Linked DNA regions of Homo sapiens: all the other regions are linked to region 2. Evidence: promoter capture Hi-C in 16 types of primary human blood cells and fetal thymus (Javierre and others, 2016). All regions are on one chromosome and are shown on one strand. Each heading gives the region's core, a stretch centred on a gene start or on the middle of the fragment in contact. The rest is flanking DNA. Distances are from core to core; before and after follow the strand shown.

Region 1 (3,608 bases), core at 595-3,094, 240 kb before region 2:
GTCTTCCCGTAGGATGTTGGAGTGAATCTACCATGCATGACTCATGTTTCCATCCCTATCATCCTGGGTAGGGAAGCACCAAGCTGAGGACTCTGGATCCTTTCAGGCTCTAATGACAATGCACATCCAGCATTTGTGGAGTATGTATACAGTTGTCTGGGCCAACTACTGTGGGAAGAGGAAAAGAAGTCACATTGCTACTGGTCATCAAGAGCTCACAAAATAGATGTAGACATCATTTGGGGCTATCTACTTATCCTAGTGATTCTCAACTGAGGTTGATACTTAAATTTTTTTTTTTCATTTTCTTTTTTTTTTAAGTTTCAAGAGGTTGATACTTTTGATTGTCACAATGATTGGCTTTTGATTGTCACAATGATTGGGAGCGTTATTACCACTCACATATAGTAAATGAAGGATGGGATAGTCCTACACAAAAAATTATCTAGCTCCAAATGTCCTCAGTGTCTCTGATGAGAAACACTGATCTAGTCCATAGTCAGGGCTGCCAGGTATGGGTGTGCAGGTTGCCCACTGTACAACTCTTAAGGGAACCATTCACCTGGTGGCTAAGTGTGTCAATTCTGAAACCATACTGCCTGAGTTCCAGTGCCAACTGGAACTGCCCCCCACCCCCTACTTCTTTTTTTTTTTTTGAGACCGAGTCTTTCTCCACCACCCAGGCTGCAGTCCAGTGGCACAGTCACAGCTCACTGCAGACTCTACCTCCCGGGCTCAAGTGATTCTCCTACCTCAGCCTCTTGAATAGCTGGGACCACAGGCACCACCACCACACCTGGTTACTTTTTAAATTTTTTGTAGAGATAAGGTCTCCCTATGTTGCCCAGGCTGGACTCAAAACTCTGAGGCTCAGGTGATCCTCCTGCCTCGGCCTCCCAAAGTGCTGGGATTACAGGTGTGAGCCACCGGACCTGGCCTGGAAGCTCTTGAACATATTGCTTATCTTCTGTGGACCTCAGTTTCCTCATTTATAAAATGGGAAGAGCAATAGTAATATAACTCATACTGATAACATAAGAATATGTTATCAATAATATATGTTCCTGCACATAGCAGACATTCAATTCATGTTCAATGATTATTATTCTCTGAGATCTGACTTCCCCATTGACTGGGGTGGGGCCCTGGTGTCTACTCCCTGATAAAGACCACGTATGCCTGGATTCCTGCTCTCCCTGAGGCTTAACTTTCCTGGTTCCACCTGTAATCTCATTGAGAACTCCCATTGTTGCCTAAACTTGCTTGAGATGGTTTTTGTAATCTACAACCAGAAGTCTTAATTACTAAGACAAGGTGAAAAGACTCACCTGTAGGAAACACAGTAGATAATACAAAAGGGCTTTCAAGTTAGTGTGAGACTGCTTGGCATAGAAAGACGATAAATGCCACAGACAAAACCTAATCGTAACTGAAATAAATAAATTCGAACAACAAATTGTTAAGTGAATGGAATGCAGCTAGCTAGGATCTCATGCTCTGTTCTAAGAAAACAGACAGGTCAAACAATCAGGACCAGTCCAGACATGTGTCTGGGAAGTTAAAGGAAAGAGACCCTGTCCCTCAAAACCTTCCTTACTAGTGACTCATGTCTTCGTTTACCAGGAGGTCTTCTTTGAAAATATGAATGTTTCTGGGAAGGGTAATCCAGAAACCTACTGAGGCTCACCCTACTAGGAATGTATTTACCATTTTTCTTTTCTTTCATGTCTGTTCATTGAGAACACAGAGAATGTATTTATTCAGTGACTTTCTCTCTCCTCCACTTCCCAACCCCAGCTACAAATGGGGACAGCAAGAGAGAGAAAACCTGGGGAGAACGGAAGAAACCATGCTTTGTAGAATGGATCCTGCTTCAGAATTGCTGATCTCATCAACCACATGTTTATAGAGAGAGCAGTGGCCCTTAAGGAACTGGAGAGAATGCTCTGATTTACTTCTGTCCGGCATGGTGAACAGCAGGATTGGCTGTAGCTGTTCTCTTTGCCAAGGACAGATCTGATCTGATTGCCTTGAGGTGAAAGTGAGGTAAGGTGGGGCGGGGATTAGCTTTTGGCTCCCAAGAATGGTTGTTCATCAACCTTTTGCTAAGCCCGTGGTTCTCAAATTTTGCTGCATGTTAGAATCACCTGGGAAGCTTTAAAAAAACATCTCAGTACCCAGGTTGTACCTCAGACCAATTAAATCTGAATGCCTGGGGGCGGTTGCCAGGCATCAGAAGTTTTCAAAGACCTCCCCCAACCAGGTGGTTCCTGGACATGTACCCACGTCCGGGAACCACTGTCCTCAGCATTTATTGTATGAGGCAACTTAGGTGACACACAACAGGTGAGAACCTGGCTCCTGCCTTTCGGACACAGGACTTAATTTTTTTTTTATTTTTTAAATTATGCAGTAAAATTTTTTCTGTTGGTGTACAGGTCTATGAATTTTTTTATACTGAGTTTTTCATACTGCCTGAGTACAATTTAATGGTATACCATAAAGTATACCATAATTTTATGGTATACCGTAACATTTTACATACCATAATTTTATTTTTATAAAGTATACCCACAATTTTATGGTATACCATAAAACTAGTATAGTATACCACAAAATTTACCCTTTTAAATTATACAATTCAATGCTCACTTCAGCAGCACATATACTAAAATTGGAATGATACAAAGAAAATTAGCATGACCCTTGCTCAAAGATGACACTGTAATTTGTGAAGTGTTCCATATTTAAAAAAAAATTTTTTTTAAAGTGTACAACTCAGCCATATGCAGTGGTTCCCACCTGTAATCCCAGGGTTTTGAGGCCAGGCACGGTGGCTCACGCCTATGATCTCAACACTTTGGGAGGCCGAGGTGGGTAGATCACCTGAGGTCAGGTGTTCAAGACCAGACTGTCCAATATGGTGAAACATCATCTCTACTAAAAATACAAAAACTAGCCGGGCATGGTGGTGTGTGCTTGTAATCCCAGCTACTCGGGAGCCTGAGGCGAGAGAATCGCTTGAACCCAGGAGGCGGAGGTTGCAGTGAGCCAAGATTGTGCCACTGCTCTCCAGCCTGGGTGACAGAGCAAGACTCTGTCTCAAAAAAAAAAAAAAAGGCTGGGTGTGGTGGCTCACACCTGTAATCCCCAGTACTTTGGGAGGCCGAGGCGGGCAGATCACCTGAGGTCAGGATTTCCAGACCAGCCTGACCAACATGGTGAAACCCCATCTCTACTAAAAATACAAAATTAGCCGGGCATGGTGGCGCATGCCTGTAATCCCAGCTGCTCAGGAGGCTGAGGCAGGATAATTGCTTGAACCCGGGAGGTGGAGGTTGCGGTGAGCCAAGATCTCGCCATTGCACTTCAGCCTAGGCAAGAAGAGTGAAGCTCTGTCTCAAAAAAAACAATCCCAGGGTTTTGGGATGCCTAGGCGGAGGCTCACTTGAGGCCAGGAGTTTGAGACCAGCCTGGGCAATGCAGCGAGACCCTGTCTCTACCAATAAATGAATGAATGAATAAATAAATAAATAAATAAATAAATAAATAAATAAATAAATAAAATTAGCTGGGGATGGTGGCAAGTGCCTTTAATCCTAGCTGCT
Region 2 (3,697 bases), core at 971-3,470:
GTTTCACTATTGTCACCCAAGATAAAGTACAATGGCGTGATCTCAGCTCACTGCAATCTCTGCCTCCTGGGTTCAAGCAATTCTCCTGCTTCAGCTCCTTGAGTAGCTGGGATTACAGGCATGTACCACCACACTCAGCTAATTTTTGTATTTTTAGTAGAGACGGGGTTTCACCATGTTGGCCAGGCTGGCTGGTCTCGAACTCCTGATCGCAGGTGATCCACCCACCTCGGCCCCACAAAGTGCTGGGATTACAGGCATGAACCACCGTGCCTAGCTGATATTCTTAATTTATGAAGGAAGGGCCCCAAATTTTCATTTTGCACTGGGCCCACAAATAACGTAGCAGGTCCCACAAACAAATTCGTCTAGATTCAGAGGGCCCCTTGCCTTCCTCCTCTGCTCACATTCGTTCCTTTCTCCCATCACAGGCGGGTACCCTACCTTGGGGGATTTGCCCCAGAATAAGCCTTTTTTTTCCCTTCTAACATTTTAATGAAAAATTTCAAGTGTATAGCAATGTTGAAAAGATTTTATAGTGAGCACCCATACACCTGCCACCCAAAGTCTACCATTAATGTCTTCTGGACTTACTTTTGCCGTCTTATTCATACTCTGCCTGGACTGTCCTCAGCTACAGGACTCACATCTCTTGCCGACAGCTCTAAGGCTTCCAGTCCTGCTGTCTGGACCAAGAAAGGCTTCCTGGGCTCTGAGTGTCAAATGGCGGCCTTCAAGGAAGGGGAATGGTGGAAAAGGCCGTGGGGGGTTTTGGAGAAATTGCTAGGGAAAGACTGGCACCAGAGTTCCACCAGCCCAGGCAATGGGGGGTACAGAACCCATAAGATGAGTTCTAGAAAAGCAAGGAAGGTTTCGTTCTGGAGTTTGTGGACTGAGGTTTCCATTTGTGACTAGGATTCTCATTGGTTCCTTATGTAGTTTCTTACGCCCTGCATAGTCTTCTAAGCATTTCTCACAGACGTGGTCTGGGGGCGAACACCAGCAGCCCTGAGAGGTGGCTAAAGAGGAGATTCTTCTCTCCACTTCACATCGTAGGAAACTGAGTCTCAGAGGTTCCTTCCCTGGCCTGCCCACAACCCCAGGGCTAAAAGAGGCAGACCAAGCCCAGGGCCTTGAACCCCAACAATGGGCCTCTTTCTTTTGATCCCATGATAGGGGTGCAAAAGCATTGCATTCCCCTGGGTAATTTGAAGAAAAAACCCAAAAAACTCCAACTTTGTCTCCAGGAAAAAGAGGGTGTCTGGGCTATGATTTACCTCTGAGGGTGTGGTTGCACTGAGCGTGATCACACTTCAAAGGGTTAGATCTCATTTCTCTGCCTTTCTAGCTTGGGCCCAGGGCTCAGAAATGTGTGGACTCCCTCACAGCCCCTCCCAGCATCCCTGCCCCCTCCCAACTGCCTTGGGCAGGTGACACCTGTATTATTGCTAAGGGTTAAAAAGCCCCCAAATCAATAAAACCCATTAATGAGTGTTGGTACCTCGAAGGCTACAGATAAATCCCTTCTACTCAGTGAGTTCAATCCCATAAAACAGCTCTCCCCTTTCAATCCTAGCATTCATTTGATAGAAAATGTGGAGAAATTTTAAAAAGGTGACTTACTAATTGCCTGTAAAATAAAAGGCAGATGGAAGCTTTATTACAGTTGAAGGAAGTCGGGAATATTAAGGTAAAATGTCAAATAACAATTGATTTTCCTTAGACATAAAGGGGCGATTTATGGCTTCCTAGTTACTACAAACGAGAAATTATTTGAAGTTCTGAAAAGTATGAGGAGAAATAAAGATTAAATAGAAGATGAAATCATAGGGATTTCTCTGGGAGGTGACTTCAGTGCCCCTGGGGACTAGAATTCATGTGGCCAGTGGCCTAGCCAGCTGGGGCTTGGCAGTTTCAAGATTTAGAGGCAAGGTGTCTCTGAGGAGCGGGGAAGTGGCTGTTTGCTTTGTGTCTGAGGAACTAGGAAAGAAAGATGAAGATAGGGAAAGTTGTGGTTAGGGCCAATTTCAGACTGAGGGATGTGGGATTAGGGGATTCTTGTGGATGGGCCTATAGCTCTGCTTCCTGACTAGCAGATACTGGGGATCTGGGGAAGGGAAGGGTGAGCTGCCTTTCCTGGGACTTCGATGGCATCCTTACAGTCAGGGGACACTGTCCTTGCTGGGTCCCGGACATCAGTGTCTATGTATCCCTGCAAGCCACAGCACTATCCAGGCCCTCTGGTGGCTTTGCTTGGTCTGGGCCAACCTGGTCTCCACACTGACAGTCAAAGACGAGGAGAGGAAAAAGAACTCACGGCTAGGCGTGGTGGCTCCTGCCTGTAATTCCAGCACTTTGAGAGGCCGAGGCGGGTGGATCCCTTGAGCCCAGGAGTTTGAGACCAGCCTGGGCAACATGGCGAAATCCCCGTCTCTACAAAAAATAGAGAACAATTACCCAGGAATGGTGGTACTCTGGAGGTTGAGGTGGGAAGATGGCTTGAGCTCGGGAGGTTGAGGCTACAGTGAGCTGTGATTGTGCCACCGCACTCCAGCATGGGCGACAGAGCAAGACACTGTCTCAAAAAAAAGGCTCATTTCCAGGCTGCCAGGCTTATGTTAGCCTGGGGTCCCGCAGGAGCTGACCTGAGACAAGTACTTGAGGGCAAGTTGTTTGTTTGAGGGATGCTCACAGGAAGCTCCAGTAGGAGGGTAGGGAGGTGACCCAGGGAAGGAAGGCAGCTTACAGGGGCGTGTTGTCAGGAAGGGCACCCCGGCGGGTGACGGAAGCTTAATTTTGCTGGGAAACTCAGGAGCCAGCATGGAACCTGCACCTCAGAGTTATCCCACTGGAAGGATGAGGGAGCGGGTACTTATACACCAACTCCATCCCCGTCCTTTGTTAAGGCTGCTGGATGGAGTGGGTGGGACACTCATTCTTCAGCACTCCCAGGGGCCCTCAGGCTGTCAGAAGTTAGGTCCGTTGGGCTCCAGGATGAGGGGACCCCCAGAAGATGCGGGAGGGCGTCCGCAGCATCTGCCTCTGTGCTTTCCCTGTTTATCTGAATCCTCATAATTCCCGCCACATGCAGATCAGAGCCCCCAGCTTTATGGAAGAGAACACAGGTTTGGAGAAGATAAAGAGCATTCCCACAACTAGGAGGTGGGGAAAGCTAGGAGTTCAGCCCAGAGCTCCCTGACTTCAAAGTCCATTCTCTTTCTACTTCCTGATTTTTTTTTTTTTTTTTTTTTTTTGAGACGGAGTTTCACTCTGTTGTCTAGGCTGGGGTGCAGTGGCACAAACTTGGCTCACTGCAGTCTCTGCCTCCTGGGTTCAAGCAATTCTCCTGCCTCAGCCTCTCGAGTAGCTGGGACTACAGGCGCCCGCTACCATGCCTGGCTAATTTTTTGTGTTTTTAATAGAGACAGGGTTTCACCGTGTTGGCCAGGCTGGTCTCGAACTCCTGACCTCAGGTGATCCGCTTGCCTTGGCCTCCCAAAGTGCTGGGATTACAAGCACGAGCCACTGTGCTCGGCCTACTTCCTGATTTTTGTATAAGACACATCCCAGCAGCATGGTAGACTGAAGACTCCTGGGCCCACTCTCAGAGATTCTGCTCTGGCAAGGATGTGTTTATTGGTGAGAGGGGTGTCCAGGAATACGTGCCTTTTTTTTTTTTTCTAGAGACAGGGTCTCG
Region 3 (3,461 bases), core at 142-2,641, 200 kb before region 2:
CGGAGTCTCACTCTGTCGCACAGGCTAGAGTGCAGTGGCGAGATCTCAGCTCACTGCAACATCCACCTCCCAGGTTCAAGCAATTCTCCCGCCTCAGCCTCCCTAGTAGCTGGGACTACAGGCACATACCATCACGCCCAGCTAATTTTTGTATTTTTAGTACAGACGAGGTTTCACCATGTTGGCCAGAGTGGTCTTGAACTCCTGACCTCAAGTGATCCGCCCGTCTCGGCCTCCCAAAGTGCTGGGATTACAGGGGTGAGCCACAGTGCCCAGCCCCTGGGGGAATAAGTTCTGAGAGGACACAGGAAAACTGGGGATTGAAAAGCAGGTTTTCACAAGAGTGGAGGCAGCTGGCTCTGTGGGTTCCCAGACTAAGGGGATCTGTGCTTGACAGACCAGAGGCCAGTTCTGTGACCATCATCTCAGCCTTGAATTTTTTTTTTTTTTTTTTTGAGACAAAGTCTCACTCTGTCGCCCATGCTGGAGTGTAGTGGTGTGAACTCAGGTCACTCCAACCTCTGCCTCCTGGGTTCAAGCGATTCTTGTGCCTCAGCCTCCCGAGTAGCTGGGACTACAGGCGCCCACCACCACCACGCCCGGCTAAGTTTTCTATTTTTAGTAGAGATGGAGTTTCGCCACGTTGGCCAGGCTGGTCTGGAACTCCTGACCTCAAGTGATCCACCAGCCTCGGCCTCCCAAAGTGCTGGCATTACAGGCGTGAGCCACTGCACCCGGCCTAGCCTTGTGATATTAACAGTAACTGTCATTTGCGGTGTGCCTACTCTGTGTCACACTCCTTGCAGTTATTCCATTTAGGGTAGAGCAACATTATTCTAGTTTACAGATGAGAAAACTAAGGCCCCAGAGATTGATTTGCCCAAGCAGCCAGCTGGCAGTGGAAGTGCCAGTTTCTTCGTGTGTAAAACAAGAGAAGGCAATCTACTGCCTACTGGCTTGTCAAGGGTCACTTGAGATCGGACGACAGGAACCACAAAGAAGTGAGGCCGGGAATTTGCGGATCCACAGTAAAGCAAGTTTGTCTTTTTCCAGACGTGCATTAAGATTCCTTTTTCAAGTGTTCTAAAGCGCAGGCGCAGGCTGTTTTGCGGTTGCCTCCCGGCGCCTCTTGTGCAGGCCGGGGTCGCCCTCTGCCGACCCAGGGCGGGAGCGCGCTGAGTGAACGTTTCCAGGCCTGAGGGCGGGCGGAGATTTTTCTCGCCTGTAGAGGGCGCAGATCGGCGTGCAGAGTAACCCACTCTAGTTGTCCCTTCCTTAAGCACTTCCTGTTTGATCTCTATGATCCATCCTGTTGGGACTTGATTCGTTCCTCAAATTTTCAATTTACCGTAAACAAAGGGGACGCGCGCTGACCCGGAAGTGAAAGCTGGAACCCGGCCGGAGTAGCTCTGAGCGCCGGCTGTGAGGAAGGAGGTTCTGGGCAAGCTATAGCCATGGCTGTGGCTGTAGCCATGGCGGGAGCCTTAATCGGGTCGGAGCCAGGCCCCGCGGAAGAACTTGCCAAACTCGAGTACCTGTCTTTGGTGTCAAAGGTTTGCACTGAGCTGGACAATCACTTGGGGATCAACGACAAGGACCTTGGTGAGCTCGGGGAGGTCCCTGGGACCTCAGTTTGGGATTGAGGGAAGCGGAAGGAGGAAGGAGGAAGGAGAAAGGTGGTTGATGGACCGAAAGTATGTTCGTGTGAATCTGTCTCTCTCTGTCGCAGACACCGGTGCCCAGGGTACACGCTGCCGTGGCCTCGGCTTGAGAGCCCTCGAGAAACTTTAGAAACTTTCCCAGAGCTGTCAGTGAAGCCCGGGGCGGTCATCTCTGCTTGATTGTTTTTTGTTTGTTTTTTCAGCCTCAATTAAACATGTTTAACAACAACAGCAGCAGATGCTGCGATGACGACGATGATGGCTGACGTTTATTGGGTGCTCACTATGTGCTAGATGCGATGCTCAGCTCTTTATTGACATTATTTTATTTGGTCTTCACGCCACTCTGTGACATAGTAGTTAGCGTCTGTGCTTTTAACTGTGTTCTTTGACCGTTCATCCTGTACTCTTTTTTGAGGCAGGGCCTCGCTCTGTTTCCCGGGCTGGAGTGCAGTGGCACGATCTCGGCTCACTGCAGCCTCCACCTCCTGGGCTCAAGCAGTCCTCCCACCTCAGCCTCCCGAGTAGCTGGGACTACAGGCGGGCGCCACCAAGCTCGACTCATTTTTAAATTTTTTGTAGAGACGGGGGTCTCACTGTATTGCCCAGGCTGGTCTCGAACTTCTGGGCTCAAGCAGTCCTCTTCCCTCGGCCTCCCAAAGTGTTGGGATTACAGGCGTGAGCCATTGCGTCCTGTACTATGTCTTAAACACCAGTCACTAGATGTTTTGGGGCAAACTACATCTGGGGAGCCGAAACTGAGGAATTAGAAAAGGCTAGGGTCCTAAAGCTAAAGCCATAGACAGATGGAGCCTTTATGAAGGTACAGAGGATGGATGGGATCAAGGGCAACCAATGGATGGATTGACCTTTGGTACGTACAGCAAGGCTTCTTCAGTTGTAACAGGAGCGAGGACAGAGAATACAGTTGCAGATTCAGATGAGTTTAGAGATTGGTGGTGGGAAGATGAGTGAGAGAGTTCCAGCCCACTCTTCAGTTTCCTAAATGAAGATAAAGTCATCAACCGGAGGGATGGAAGGGAAGGGGCAGGTGACAGGAGGGGTTAGGGAAGTTAGACGAGTGACCTTTGGTAAGATTCATAGTTTCTCTGAAGCTGTTTTTCTCATCTGTGAAGTGGGACGATGTCTTCACAGGGTCACCATATAGCATTTAGGAAGATGCCCTGCAGCCAGTATATTTTAGTTTACTTTTTTCTCTTGCCTCCCAGCCAAGATGTGTCTGTCCTATATAACTTTTCCCGCAGGATTCTTCTCTTTTAGTTGATAATGAGGTGATAATTTCGTCGGTTTTGCTATCTCGTTAATATGTTTCCTTTATTCAGCAAATATTGAGCTGGGGGCTAGGCATACCACAGAGAACAAGACAGATTTCTGCTTTCAGGGAGCTTACCTTTCTCTCTGTTTTCATTTTAACTCCTAATACCTTGGCCTTTTAGAAGAAACAAAAAAGTTATTGACATTAACCCCCAGTGTTTAATTGTTTTGATGTTAACTTCATTTGTGTACAAAAATAGAGCGAAGTATAAACTTCATAATCTTTTAGTTTATTTATAGCTAAAGATCTCAATTAATTTGCAGAAAACCCACAAATATGCTTTTTCTGTTACATACAGAATTATAAAACCAGTAACATTAAAAGTACTAACATTGGCTGGGTTTGGTGGCTCACGCCTGTAATCCCAGCACTTTGGAAGGCCAAGACAGGCCGATCCCCTGAGGTCAGGAGTTTGAGACCAGCCTGGCCAACATGGCGAAACGCCATTTCTACTAAAAAAAAAA

The links. Contacts are between HindIII fragments. The CHiCAGO score rates a contact against its expected background, and 5 or more counts as called.
Region 1: a contact is called between the fragment with the promoter of MIR2117HG here and a fragment that was not itself captured in region 2, in 1 of 17 cell types (endothelial precursors). The highest score is 6.9, in endothelial precursors.
Region 3: the fragment with the promoter of DHX8 here is called in contact with a fragment that was not itself captured in region 2 in 4 of 17 cell types (endothelial precursors, M0 macrophages, M1 macrophages and 1 more); the score reaches 9.2 in endothelial precursors.

The regions. Positions count from the first base shown.
Region 1 is chr17:43,442,863-43,446,470 of GRCh38, forward strand. MIR2117HG (MIR2117 host gene) reads left to right here and starts at 1,845. Exons shown (of 2, transcript NR_146952.1): 1 at 1,845-2,046. MIR2117 (microRNA 2117) reads left to right here and starts at 1,944; the gene lies at 1,944-2,023. It also overlaps the pseudogene RNU6-406P. The HindIII fragment of the contact is 4,934 bases long and covers 1-2,153 here.
Region 2 is chr17:43,682,221-43,685,917 of GRCh38, forward strand. All of the region lies in intron 3 of LINC02594 (long intergenic non-protein coding RNA 2594), which reads left to right. The region is part of intron 1 of LOC107985085 (a long non-coding RNA gene); the gene reads right to left. Among named protein-coding and RNA genes, the nearest start is that of LINC02594, 19 kb to the left of the region's middle. The HindIII fragment of the contact is 1,134 bases long and covers 1,654-2,787 here.
Region 3 is chr17:43,482,584-43,486,044 of GRCh38, forward strand. DHX8 (DEAH-box helicase 8) reads left to right here and starts at 1,392. Exons shown (of 23, transcript NM_004941.3): 1 at 1,392-1,602. The coding sequence starts at 1,455. RefSeq lists enhancers at 1,085-1,927, 1,227-1,656. The HindIII fragment of the contact is 15,734 bases long and covers 1-3,461 here.